2 separate regions of the Homo sapiens genome follow, and region 2 is linked to region 1. Evidence: promoter capture Hi-C in 16 types of primary human blood cells and fetal thymus (Javierre and others, 2016). All regions are on one chromosome and are shown on one strand. The core of a region is centred on a gene start or on the middle of the fragment in contact, and the rest is flanking DNA. Distances in the headings are between cores, read along the strand shown. Region 1 holds the start of RPL32 (ribosomal protein L32). Region 2 has its middle 14 kb from the start of HDAC11-AS1.

Region 1 (6,533 bases), core at 2,126-4,625:
GTCTGTTCTCATAATGCTAATAAAGACATACCCGAGACGGGATAATTTATAAAGGAAAGAGGCTATTGACTCACAGTTCCATATGGCTGTTTACAATTCATAATCATGGCGGAAGGCAAAGGAGGAGCAAAGTCAGGTCTTACACAGCAGCAGGCAAGAAGAGTGTGCGCAGAGGAACTCCCCTTTATAAAACCATCAGATGTTGTGAGACTTATTTACTACCAAGAGAACAGTATGGGGAAAACTGCCCCCATGATTGGATTATCTCCACCTGGCCCTGCCCTTGACACTTGGGGTTTATTACAATTCATAATGAGATTTAGGTGGGGACACAGCCAAACCATATCACCAGGTAACCCTTTCTAATGACTGAGGCAGCTCCCTACTCCAGGTCCCTCGCACTATCGATTTTGCTGCCGAGAACAAGGAGGAGCCTAGTAAGGGGACCGAATCTGCCTGTAACATTGGGAAACCCTGCAGTGGCCAAGATAACCAGTCAGGAGGGGCTCCAGCTTTGGGGGGAACTTCATTCCAGAAAACCAGCCCTGACCACCTACAAAGCCCTAAAGAGGCAAAGAATGGTGCAAGCCCAGCAGAAAGCCAGCCAGGCCCTGGGCATGGAGTCTTCGAGCTGTCTTCTCTGGTGACATGCTTCCTCAGGCCACAAGGCTGAATGATACGTAAACGCCCATGCCCCCAAAGATCCAAGCACTTCCCGTTCTGCTGGCTCTTCCGGCATTCCTGTGAAGTGAGCAGAAGGCCAGGTTTGCCCGTCTCTTTTCCCCTTTCAGATGACAAAACTGATGGTTTCCTTCCCGCTCTTTAGGAGCGCATAGACACAGGCAGGTCTGCAGCAGGTGAAATTTACTCAAGCTAGAGTGCAGTGGTGCCATCATAGCTCACTGAAGCCTCCAATTCCTGGCTCAAGCAATCCTCCTGCCCTTGCCTCCCAAGTAACTGGGACTGCAAAGTGAGTGCCACCAAATCCAGCTATTTTTTTTTTTTAATATATAAATGAGGTCTTGGTTTGTTTTCCAGGCTGCTCTTGAATGCCTGGCCTCAAGCAATCCTCCTGCCCTTGCCTCCCAAGTAACTGGGACTGCAAAGTGAGTGCCACCAAATCCAGCTATTTTTTTTTTAATATATAAATGAGGTCTTGGTTTGTTTTCCAGGCTGCTCTTGAATGCCTGGCCTCAAGCAATCCTCCTGCCTTGGCCTCCCAGAGTGCTGGGATTACAGGTGTGAGCCACCATATCCAGCCCAGCTCTAGACTTTTAGAGAAATTTTAATAGTATTTTACACCACAGTGATTCCTTTTTTTAAAAAAAATTTATGTCCCTAGCATGTACAGTAAACACTAAAGTGATTCCTAAAGAATTCTTCCCTTTTATCACTTCCAGTAGGCCTCTGTGAAACCAAATCTACCTCCGCTTACAAGAAAGATGCTGGGCTGGCCTTCTCTCAAAGTCTTTCCAAACTTTTCTTGGCATTGACTTAGACACCCTAGGAATCTAACTTGAGAAAATGTTTTCATTAAAAAAAATCTCAGGAAGTAAAACCTCCTGAATGATTACTGAGTTGACATAAATCTTATGTGTATATTCTTATCAGAAAAAAAGTATCTTCATTTTGTGGGACACCAATTCATGTATTATTATTATTTTGAGACAAAGTTTCGCTCTTGTTGCCCAGGCTGGAGTGCAATGGCGCGATCTCCACTTACTGCAACCTCCACCTCCTGAGTTCAAGTGATTCTCGTGCCTCAGCCTCCCTAGTAGCTGGAACTACAGGCATGTGCCACCACACCCAGCTAATTTTTTGTAACTTTAGTAGAGATGGGGTTTCACCATGTTGGCCAGGATGGACTCGAACTCCTGACCACAGGTGATCTGCCCACCTCAGCTTCCCAAAGTGCTGGGATTACAGGCATGAGCCACCGCGCCCAGTCGCTGGGTCTTACAGTAACTTTATGTTTAACATTTTGAGGAAATGCTATTCTTTTCCAAAGTGACTGCACCATTTCATATTTGCACTAGCACTGTACGGACATTCCCATTTCTCTGTCCTAGTGAGTGTGAAATGGTATCTCACTGCAGTTCCAGTTTGTATTTCCCTGATGGCTAATGATGTGGATCATTTCATGTGTTCATTGGCCACAGAGAAATGTCTATTTGGATTCTTTACCCATTTTTCAATTGGGTTATTTGTCTTTATAGGTTTGTTGTTGTTGAGACAGAGTCTTGCTCTGTCACTCAGGCTGGAGTGCAGTGGCATTATCACAGCTAACTGCAGTCTAGAACTGCTGGGCTCACGTGATCATCCCAGCTCAGCCTCTCGAGTAACTGGGACTACAGGCATGCGCCACCAGCCCCAGCTAATTATTTTATTTTTTGTAGAGACAGGGTCTTACTATGTTGCCTAGGCCGGTCTTGAACTCCTGGGCTCAAGCAAATCTCCCACCTCAGACTCCCAAAGTATTGGAATTATAGGTGTGAACCATAGTGCTCAGCCAATTTGCACAATAATCTTAAATACAAAAGCTAAGCAAAACAAATCAAGAGCATCTTTAAAAACTAGGCAGTCTGGGAGGCAGGGGCTGCCGTGAGCCGTGAGATGGCACCTTTGCATTCCAGCCTAGGTGACAGAGGGAGGCCCTGTCTAAAAAAAACCAAAAACCAAAAAACAAAACAAAACAAAAAACATCTAGGCAGTAGCTCGTGCCCGTAATCCCAGCTACTCAGGAGGCTGAGGCGAGAGAATCGTTTGAGCCCAGGAGTTCAAGACCAGCCTGGGCAACAGAGTGAGACCCCATTTCTAAAAAATGAACAAAGAAAAACTAGGCAGTTTCGCCCAGTGGTTAGAAGCGTGGAGTTTGGAGTCAAGTCTCCAAATTTCATCTTCCACATATGCAAAATGGAGACAATAATAGGGGTACGTTATAGAATTGTGGTAGGCATAGTGAACTCCATCGCATGTTAGCTGTTTTCGTTACTATTTACTGTCTAAATTCGGTGATGAAATTATTAGGAAGTCTCTGTCTTGTTCTCTTCTGACCACTAAGAGGCGCACTTCGGAGTAGAAGAAACGCGGGCGGAAATAGCCCAAAAGCGGATTGGCTTCGACTTCTGGCGGAAGTAAATTCCTCCCTCCACCAGGTCTTATTAGCTCAGAAAGAATTCCAAATTTCTACGTAGTCCCAAGGATAGGTAGAATACATTTCTCAGTCCTATTCCTAGTTATTATTGTCTATTAAAACATGTATACTCAGAATTTTTGCGGCATTATTTTTTGACGTGTCTTTATTTTATTTAAAAGAGCCGGAGCCGGAAGTGCTTGCCTTTTTCCCTGCTAGGACCCAGGGGTTACGACCCATCAGCCCTTGCGCGCCACCGTCCCTTCTCTCTTCCTCGGCGCTGCCTACGGAGGTGGCAGCCATCTCCTTCTCGGTAAGTGTTAATCCGTGGCAATCCGCATTCCTGCGGGATTCATCTGGCCCCGTCGCCCAGTGGTGCGGAGGCCTCCCCTTCAGCGCGGTAGTGTCTGTGGGTATTGTTATTGTCAGCTTACTGGAGCGTGTACAGGAACAGAACGAAGCCGCCGAGTTGATAGGGCTTTGCGTCCCAGAGCCTCCTGCCCTCCGCCTGTATTCAGAGCTGCGGGCTGCTTGTTTGTTCCTTGGCGGTGGAGGGTGCTAGTTGAGGCCAGACTTCGGGGTCTCCTGGGGGCCGTGGGACGACCAGGGGTGGCCCAGCTTGACAGCTTTCAGCTGGGATCTGTGGATCCCAGCGCTCACCAATGTCGGCCCACGTGTATTCGTTCATGCCATGGCCGGCTTCTTCCGCTGCAGTCTCTGGCCCGAGGGCTGCTGCTGCGGGACCGCCAAGGAAAGACGAGCTGTAGGTCGGCTGGTCCAGCTGCAGGCAGAAATTCTGGTAGTATCTCTGGGAATATGAAGATGCAACTGCCCCCACCTTGCCTTCGAGGATATCATGGGCCAGAAGGCAGAGTCGTTTTGAATACGTGGTTCATTGAGTACCCACTCTGGGCCAGTTGATGGCTGCGAAGAGAGCAGAAGGGGTGCTGCTGTAGGAAATCAATGGCTCGGAAGACCACACTGAGGAAGGTGTGAGTTGATACTGGAAGATCTCCAGGTTTGAGGCATCTTCAGAGGTATATGGTGGTTTTGTGTGTGTTGAGGGTGTGGTAGCGCAGCAGCTCCCTAGGGAATTAGAAGGTTTTATTGAACATTTACCCTGTGACAGGCACTGCAGGCATTCAGCGCGCAGTGTCATCTTCATTTTACAGGTGAGGAAAAGACTCAGGTTCAAGTAGATGGTCAAGGCCAGTACTACCGGAAGGACCATCTGGGGGTTCGGACACTGGTGGGGTGGGATTTGCTGCCCCTTGCAAATTGAGAGTGTCTTGGGGTCAGTTTTGATTTGCTCAGCTGTTGGCATTCTTTGGGCTCTGAGTGGGTGAGGTGACCCTTGACCTCCTGGGATCGCATCTGGAGAGTGCCTAGTATTCTGCCAGCTTCGGAAAGGGAGGGAAAGCAAGCCTGGCAGAGGCACCCATTCCATTCCCAGCTTGCTCCGTAGCTGGCGATTGGAAGACACTCTGCGACAGTGTTCAGTCCCTGGGCAGGAAAGCCTCCTTCCAGGATTCTTCCTCACCTGGGGCCGCTTCTTCCCCAAAAGGCATCATGGCCGCCCTCAGACCCCTTGTGAAGCCCAAGATCGTCAAAAAGAGAACCAAGAAGTTCATCCGGCACCAGTCAGACCGATATGTCAAAATTAAGGTATGTGGTCCTGGGATGGAAATGGGTGTGGGGTGAAGAAAAGAGTTTCCAACAGTTTCTGACATCACCTAGTCAGGATTATCTTTGACCGATGAACTGGCTTGTGGAAGAGCTTTCTGTAGAAATACAGGTCTCCCCCAGTGTGCCCTAGTGCTGGTACTTATGTCTCTTGATGTGTGAAGCGAAACTTTAATGAAAAGGGACATTTGGCCGTTTTGATGTGTTCAGAGGGCTTTGCATTTGTGTCCTGTATTTTGGGTTGCCTTGTGACAGCAGGATCCCTATTTTATAGACAAGAAAACTCAGGTGCTGAGAGCAGTGTCTGCAGCTGTGCTTGCCATCTCAGTATCTACACAGTCCCCTCGCATCCCATTGGTGCCTCCTCCATTGCTTGGGAGTGGCAATGGTGGGGGTGCCTTCATCCCTAGTGGCTAAAGCCACGAGCTCCTGGTTTTTCCCACCAAAAAAGTAAGGAAATAGTGAAGTCCTGTTACCAAAGGCAACTACTGTGTGGCATACTTCCTTTTCATTTGGTCCTTTTTTTCCCTCCCCAAAAGGAAGAGTTCGCACTCTGCACAGACGCTAACCCACCTGTGTATTATTTCCTTCAGCGTAACTGGCGGAAACCCAGAGGCATTGACAACAGGGTTCGTAGAAGATTCAAGGGCCAGATCTTGATGCCCAACATTGGTTATGGAAGCAACAAAAAAACAAAGCACATGCTGCCCAGTGGCTTCCGGAAGTTCCTGGTCCACAACGTCAAGGAGCTGGAAGTGCTGCTGATGTGCAACAAGTGAGTTGGGTCCCACCTCTAGTTTTCAGTGATCAGAAGTTTGCATCTGTGTGAGCACTTCTGGCAGGAACTCTACAAACTCTTGGGATGCATTTTGGCGGGGGGTGTTGTACATTCTCTGAGGGAATCAGAAGTTGTTCCTTGCAGGATTTTAGAGAATGCTTGTTGGGGAATTCAAGGTGTTTCCTTTGCTGAAGGAGGTGACTTGGTCTTCTAAGTGTAGAGACCCAAGACCAGGAAAAGACTGCTTTGTGAACACTGCAATAATAGCCACTTTCCACTACTACAATATCCTTTGGCTGTTGTTTCCAAAATGTTGCTTTCTTTATGAAGGTGTCAAGCAAAAGAGTTGAACTCTGAAATATTCGAAGAGATTTATTCTGAGCCAAATATGAGTTGACCATGGCCCGTGACACAGCCCTTGGGAGACCCTAAGAATATGTGTCCAAGGTGGGCGGGGAGCAGCTTGGTTTTACATATTTTAGGGAGACATGAGACATCAATCAAATACACATAAGGCATACATTGGTTTGGTCCAGAAAGGCGGCACTTCGAGGTTTTGGATAGATTTTCTGTTTCTCGTCGAGAATTGGTTATCACTAGAAAGGAATGTCTTGGCTACAGTAAGAGGTTGTGGAAACCAAGAGTGCCCTATTCAAGGAGGGAGTGCATTCAGATGGTTGCTGGGGGCCTTTGAATTTTATTTTTGGCTTACAAGCGGGAGAAGGTCAAACATGGACCTCAGACCTTAAGGGGCTCTTAAGTCTGTGCTGTGGTAAGGGGTATCTTCAGGGGCAGGAGGGCTCTGGAAAGTTTGCATTAGATGGAGAACAGGAGGAAACTTGGCAGGCAGAGAGTGCTTACACAAAGGTGTAGAGGTGAAAGCACATGGAGGGTTTGCAGGGCATTGGTTCCAGGTGGGTTTTATTGGTTTTTGTTTTT
Region 2 (6,533 bases), core at 1,176-3,675, 630 kb before region 1:
GCATGGTGGCGGGCACCTGCAATCCCAGCTGCTCGGGAGGCTGAGGCAGGAGAATTGCTTGAACCCAGGGGGCAGTGAGCCAAGATCACACCAGTGCACTCCAGCCTGGGTAAAAAAAGAGCGAAACTCCATCTCGAAAAAAAAAAACACAAAAATCATGAACTTTACCATATTAACCATGGGTAAGTATACAGTTCAGTAGTGTTAAATATCCTTGTGCAACAGGTCTCTAGAACTATTTTTTCTTTTTCTTTTTCTTTTCCTTTTTCTTTTTTCTTTTTTTTTTTTTTTTTTTTTTTTTTTTGAGATGGAGTCTCACTCTCTTGCCCAGGCTGGAGTGCGATGGCACAATCTCTGCTTACCGCAACCTCCACCTCCTGAGTTCAAGTGATTCTCCTGCCTCAACCTCCTGAATAGCTGGGATTACAGGCACCCGCCACCACCCCCTGCTAATTCTTGTATTTTTAGTAGAGATGGGGTTTCACCATGTTGGTCAGGATGGTCTTGAACTTCTGACCTGAGGTGATCTGCCCACCTCAGCCTCCCGAAGTGCTGGGATTACAGGCTTGAGCCACCACGCCTGGCCCTCTGGGACTTTTTTATCTTGCAAAACTGAAACTGTCTTCTCCTTATACACTAACTCGCTCTTTCCCCTCCCCTTTGCCCCGGCACCCCCCATTCCATTTTCTGTCTATGAAATTGACTGCCCTAGGTACTTCATGTAAGTGGAATCACACAGTATTTTTCCTTTTGTGACTGGCTTATTCACTTAGCATAATGTCCTCAAGATTCATCCATGTCGTAGCTTAGCTCAGAATTCCTTTCCCTTTTAAGGCTAAGTAATATTCCATCATATGAACAGAGTACATTTTCTGTATTCATTCATCTGTCAATAGACATTTAAGTTCTTTCCACCTCTTGGCTATTGTGAATAATGCTGCTATGAACATGTACGTGCAAATATCCATTGGAGTCTCTGCTTTCACTTCTTTTGGACATGTACCCAGAAGTGGGATTGCTGGATCATATGGCAATTCTATCTTTAATTTTTTTAGGAACCATCATACTGTTTTCCACAGCAATTATACCATTTTGCGTTCCCACATCAGAACAAGGGTTCTATTTCTTCGCATTCTTGCCAAGAGCTGTTATTTTCTTTTTTTTTTTTTCAATAGTGGCAATCCTAATAGTGTGACATTTCACTTCCTAATAGAAGTGACATTTCACTGTGGGTTTTTTTTAATTTTTTATTATTATAAATATATTTTTGAGACAGGGTCTCACTGTGTCACCCAGGCTGGAGTGCAATGCAGTGTCTCTATCCCAGCTAACTGCAACCTCCACCTCTCGGGTTCAAGTGATTGTCCCACCTCAGCCTCCCCAGTAGCTGGGATTACAGGCGTGTGCCACCACTTCCGGCTAATTTTTGTATTTTTTGGTAGAGACGGGGTTTCACCATATTGGCCCAGCTGATCTCTAACTCCTGACCTCAGGGGATCAGCCCGCCTCAGCCTCCCAAAGTATTGGGATTACAGGCATGAGCCACCACGCCCAGCCTTCATTGTGGTTTTGATTTGCACTTCCCTACTAGTTAGTGGTGCTGAGCACCTTTTCGTGTGCTTGTTGGTATTTGTATATCTTCTCTGGAGAAATGTCTATTCAAGACCCTTATTCATTTTTTATTGTGTTGTTGTTAAGTTTTAGGACTTCTTTATATATTCTGGTTTTTGGCCTCTTGTCATATATATGATTTGTAAATATTTTCTCCTATTCTGTAGGTCGCCTTTTCACTCTGTTGGTTTTTTTGAGGTGAAGAAATGTTTAAGTTTGATGTAATTCCATTTGTCTATTATTGCTTTTGCTGTCTATCCTTTTGGTATCCTATCCAAGAAATTATTGCCAAACCCAATGTCATGAAGATTTTCCCCTGTGTTTTCTTCTAAGGGTTTTATAGTTTTAGCTCTTACATTTAGGTGTTTCATCCGTGTTAGCGTGTGCTTTCATTATTTAAATACACTCTGCATGGTCAAGCAGTCTGTAGTCTGCAGGGAAATCATTGAGACTCAAACTCGGCCAAGGTTAGGCCTAGACATGGTTCTCTTCAGGTTATTGGATGATGGGGCTCATGAAGCTTTAGTGGGCTCTGGGCTCCTTCCCAGCACTCGAGGACATGCCCACTGGTCCCCATCTTACAACATTCATTGTCCTTATCATCTTTGATGTCACCAGCCTCTCATCACACAGGTTTGCATCATATTGATATCAGTGATGAGGCCCATCTGCTCAAATGCTGCCGGGAAGATGGGCCAGGAGTGATGCTCTTTTTTAAGCTGAGAAAAATAAAGCTTCCAGGCATTCTCACGTAGCAAGCATGGCTCTAAATGCAGAACCATTTCCACTACACTGAAGTTATTTCTCTCAGAAAAAAAAATTTTTAATGGATGACATGTAAGGACCCATCCTGGGAAAATTGAGCTGAAAGGAAGAATGTAAGAGAAAGCTTAAATCATTGCATATAAAAGGTCTTCCTATCTATTTTGTTTGTAGAAGCAACAAAACTGGAATGGACCCAAATGCCAAAGGATAGGGAAATAGTTAAGCCAACAAGTAGAGTACTTTGCAGTTAAGAGAAGTTAATTCCCGGATGCCTCCGAGGAAAAGGAGAAATGTGTATCTTAACCAAGAAAACTAAGTGGAGCCCAGGTTTATAAGTAAACACTGACCCTTGTTACTTATAAAAGCCACACATAGCATGCTGGTCAACTGCCCACAGGCACTCGGGTCCACTTCTGCCCTGCCCTTGTCCTCTGGCTTCTTATTCAGTCAGTGGCCACTGGTGCTGGAACGCTAGAGGGTGAGAAGAGAGGATAAAGCAGGGCATTTCTCCCCTGGGTGCCCTTTGACATCTCCAGCAGAGGGAGGGTCTTCTCCTCTGTGGCTTCAGCTCTGCCTTGTCCCCCTGGGAACTTCGGTGGTCCCATCGCCTACCAGAAAGACCCTTCCTACGGCTCTAGCTCCTACGGGGCACCCCAACTCCTGGGTCACACCTATTACCTTCTCTTTATTCCTAGGAATGGGAGTGGCCTCCTGCTGAACTAATCCCTCTAACCTCACTGCCACTGCCTCCACCACCAGAGCAACCAATTCCCTGTATTAAATTCCATGAGAGAGCTTTGTGTTTTCCTGGCTGGCTCCAGGCTGATACTTGCACTAAGGGATAAAAATAAGAAGTGTGTTTGTTTGTTTGTTTTGAGACAGAGTCTTGCTCTGTTTCCCAGGCTGGAGTGCAGTGGCTTACTGCAACCTCCGCCTCCCGGGTTTAAGCAATTCTCCTGTCTCCACCTCCTGAGTAGCAGGGACTACAGGTGCGTGCCACCATGCCCAGCTAATTTTTGTATTTTTAGTAGAGATGGAGTTTTGCCATGTTGGCCAGGCTGGACTTGAACTCCTGACCTCAGGTGATCTGCCCACCTCAGCCTCCCAAAGTGCTGGAATGAGCCACTGTGCCAGGCTGCATCCTCGGCAGATGGGAATGTGATCTCCGTGACAACCAGCAAAGACCACTCCTGAGGCCCAGATGGTACCGAGGATACCTCAGTGGAGGCTACTGACCCCTCCCACCCATGACTTAGCACCACATTTAATCCCTGGAGAGTGTAGGCGCATCCTAGAAATAGGAAGAAGGGAAATATTGAGTTGCCACCCTACAGGAATAAGATCTGGAAAGAGAAATTAAGATAGGATATAAAAAATAAAGAAAGGTACGATTTGTGCGCAAATTAGTTTATAGACTAGAATTCAAATCCACTACAACTGAGAGAATAATTGGCCTTCAGTGGAATGCAAAGAGGGTGATAAAGACACTAGAATGCAGTGGAAAATGTTCCAGCATTGGAGGGAAAGAATCCTCCCACTCCCTGGAATTGCCCACTTTGAAGTCAGCAGGGTCCTTCAATATTAAGCAGCATGACCCCTCATTTCATAGTCAAAAAAAACAGATGTCCAGGGAGGCTCAATAGCTGGCCTGAGATCTCACAGTCAGCTAATGTGGGGAGCAAGAACCCGAGCCTGTGGTTTTCTCTGCTACACTTGGGTGGCTGCTGGGTCTTGCTGCAAAGACCCAAATTGCTTCTTAATTGGAGTCTCCTGCTTAATTAGCTGCTTCCTGAGCAGCCCGTGCTCCCTGTCTGGAAATCTCAATCAACACCATCTTCTCTAAATTGCTGTGACCTCGCTCTTCTCATCTCTTCCATGCAGGGATTCACTTCTTGGTTTTGCCCAGTGGGACAGCTGGGGAGAGGATGGGCCATGTGGACAGCCTCTGCAGAGAGAAAGCAGCTGTTCTTACCACCATGCCTGCTCCAGGGACTTCAGAGGGCTTCACAACCACCCCAAGAGGGTTGGGACTGGGGAACAGGAAGACTGGGTCCAATCCTGGATTTGCCACTAACTCCCCGTGTGATCTTGGGAAACCTCTGTCACTCTAGGGGCTTCAGTGACCATTAAATTACGGTTTCTCCTCTAAATTAGGGTCACTAGGCTTAGCAAATAAAAATGCAAGATACTGAGTTACATTTGAATTTCAGTAAGCAACACCATTTTTTAGTATAAGTGTGTCCCATGCAGTAAGTGTATTTGAGATATACTTATACCAAAAATTTTTTTTGGTATCTGAAATTCAAATTTAACTAGGCATCCTGTATTTTATCTGACAATCCTACCCCACATGGAAAAATTCTGTTCCATCTGCTGTGCGGAGGCAGCCTGATGAAGCATACACAGCACAGCTTGAGGGTGAGGCAGTCCTGAGTGTGAATCCCAGAACTGCCACCCAGCCTGTGTGATCTTGGGCAAGTCAGTTCACCTCTCTGAACCTCAGTTGCCCAGAGTAGAAAATGGATATATTAATCACTGACTGGTCATCTCTCAGGACTAATTAGTTCTCTCTCAAGACTAGCGAAAGAGACCGGAGGCAGTGGCTCACCCTGTAATCCCAATACTTTGGGAGGCAGAGGCAGGAGGATTGCTTGAGCCTAGGAGTTTGAGGCCAGCCTGGACAGCATGGGGATACCCCGTCTCTACCAAAAAATACAAAAATTAGCCAGGCATGGTGGCACAGGCCTGTAGTCCCAGCTATATTCAGGAGGCCGAGGTGGAAGGATCCCTTGAGCCCAGGAGGGCAAGGCTGCAGTGAGCCGTGATCATGCCATTGCACTCCAGACCCTGTCTCAAAAAAAAGATTAGTGAAAGGACATAATTTAAATCCCTTTATAGACTGCAAAGTTTGCAATAAACTCGAACATTTATTAAGAACCTGCTATAAGCAGGTTATACAACACATTCTACCAAATATTATGGGAAATAGAGATAACAGTGCAATTGGAAAGACATTTGTAAGAAAAGCCCAAGGCTATCTATTTTTCACAGAATCCTTCCATAAAGTGAAATCCCATCAAGAATCTGAATTTGGACTGCTACGAACTGATAAGGAATTTGATGCTTCAGGAAAAAAATTTGTGCAGTCTTGGGAAACAGTCATGCCTGGGCTTGACGTCAGAAAGAGCTGGAGCGATTCCCTTAGACCGACTGGACTTTCACGTTCCCACCGACAGGTATCCCATTTGGGAGGAGACCTGGCTGATCTAGGGTGATCAAAGTCATCAGCTTAGGTGGAATCTTTCTCACCTTGACTTGGGCCTTGGAGATGCCTCTGCGGTCAGGGATGAGCAGACTTCATTTGGTTCCCACCATCCAGAACCCTAGAATGGTGGGAGTCGGTGGAATTGCCAGCCCAGCACCTGTCCTCAGGGAACCAGCTGTTCCCCTCAATCCAGGAGGTTCTCCAGGGGTGGGCATTTAATCCACACGTGGCCACCACAGAGAGTCAGAGACAGGCATGTGAGGAAGACAGGGTCCCAGCATTGTTTGAGCTGGGCCTGAAGCCAGTTCTCCGAGTCAGTAAACTCTGTACCAGTTTGAGCTGGATTTTCTGTCACTTGCCACTGATGGACACATTACTTCAATATGCTCCCTGCTTGGCTAGCCCCAAAGAGAGAAAACCGCATGAGTTAAAGTATGCAGGGAAAGCTTCAAACAGAGAGAAAAGCCACCCAGGGGCTCAGCCCAACGTTTGCGAGGGATTCATGCACGATTTTCACACAATCAGCACCTACTCTTGGTGATGACGGGCAGTCTCCACCTATGTTTAGGACCCAAAAGCCACACTTTTTTGGGCAACTTGAGTGGGGCTTTAGTGGATGTGCTGTCTTCCATGTCCTCCCCTCCTCACCAAGCTCACCCCTCATGATAGCACTAGAGGCTCATCCTAAGTTAGCACCCCCCAACCCAGCTCTCTAGTCCAGAGCATCCCCACCACTATATACATCAGCCACACTCTCTAATCCCCAAGAAACAGGCTGTGCTTCCAGCCTCCCCACCTGGCCTCCTCCTATTACCTCTGCCTGACATCCTCTCTGTGCTGTTCACCCCCATCTTGAATTTGTTAAATATCTACAGGAACAAAGCTCCTGGTC

Evidence for each region. Contacts are between HindIII fragments. The CHiCAGO score rates a contact against its expected background, and 5 or more counts as called.
Region 2: a contact is called between a fragment that was not itself captured here and the fragment with the promoter of RPL32 in region 1, in 3 of 17 cell types (total B cells, total CD8 T cells and naive B cells). The highest score is 8.5, in total B cells.

Annotation. Positions count from the first base shown.
Region 1 is chr3:12,838,407-12,844,939 of GRCh38, reverse strand. It overlaps RPL32 (ribosomal protein L32), which reads left to right and starts at 3,375. Exons shown (of 4, transcript NM_000994.4): 1 at 3,375-3,446; 2 at 4,698-4,798; 3 at 5,410-5,591. The coding sequence starts at 4,703. SNORA7A (small nucleolar RNA, H/ACA box 7A) reads left to right here and starts at 4,490; the gene lies at 4,490-4,628. RefSeq lists enhancers at 2,797-3,046, 3,140-4,076, 4,077-5,015. The HindIII fragment of the contact is 26,906 bases long and covers 1-6,533 here.
Region 2 is chr3:13,463,209-13,469,741 of GRCh38, reverse strand. No RefSeq gene overlaps it. Among named protein-coding and RNA genes, the nearest start is that of HDAC11-AS1, 14 kb to the left of the region's middle. The HindIII fragment of the contact is 155 bases long and covers 2,348-2,502 here.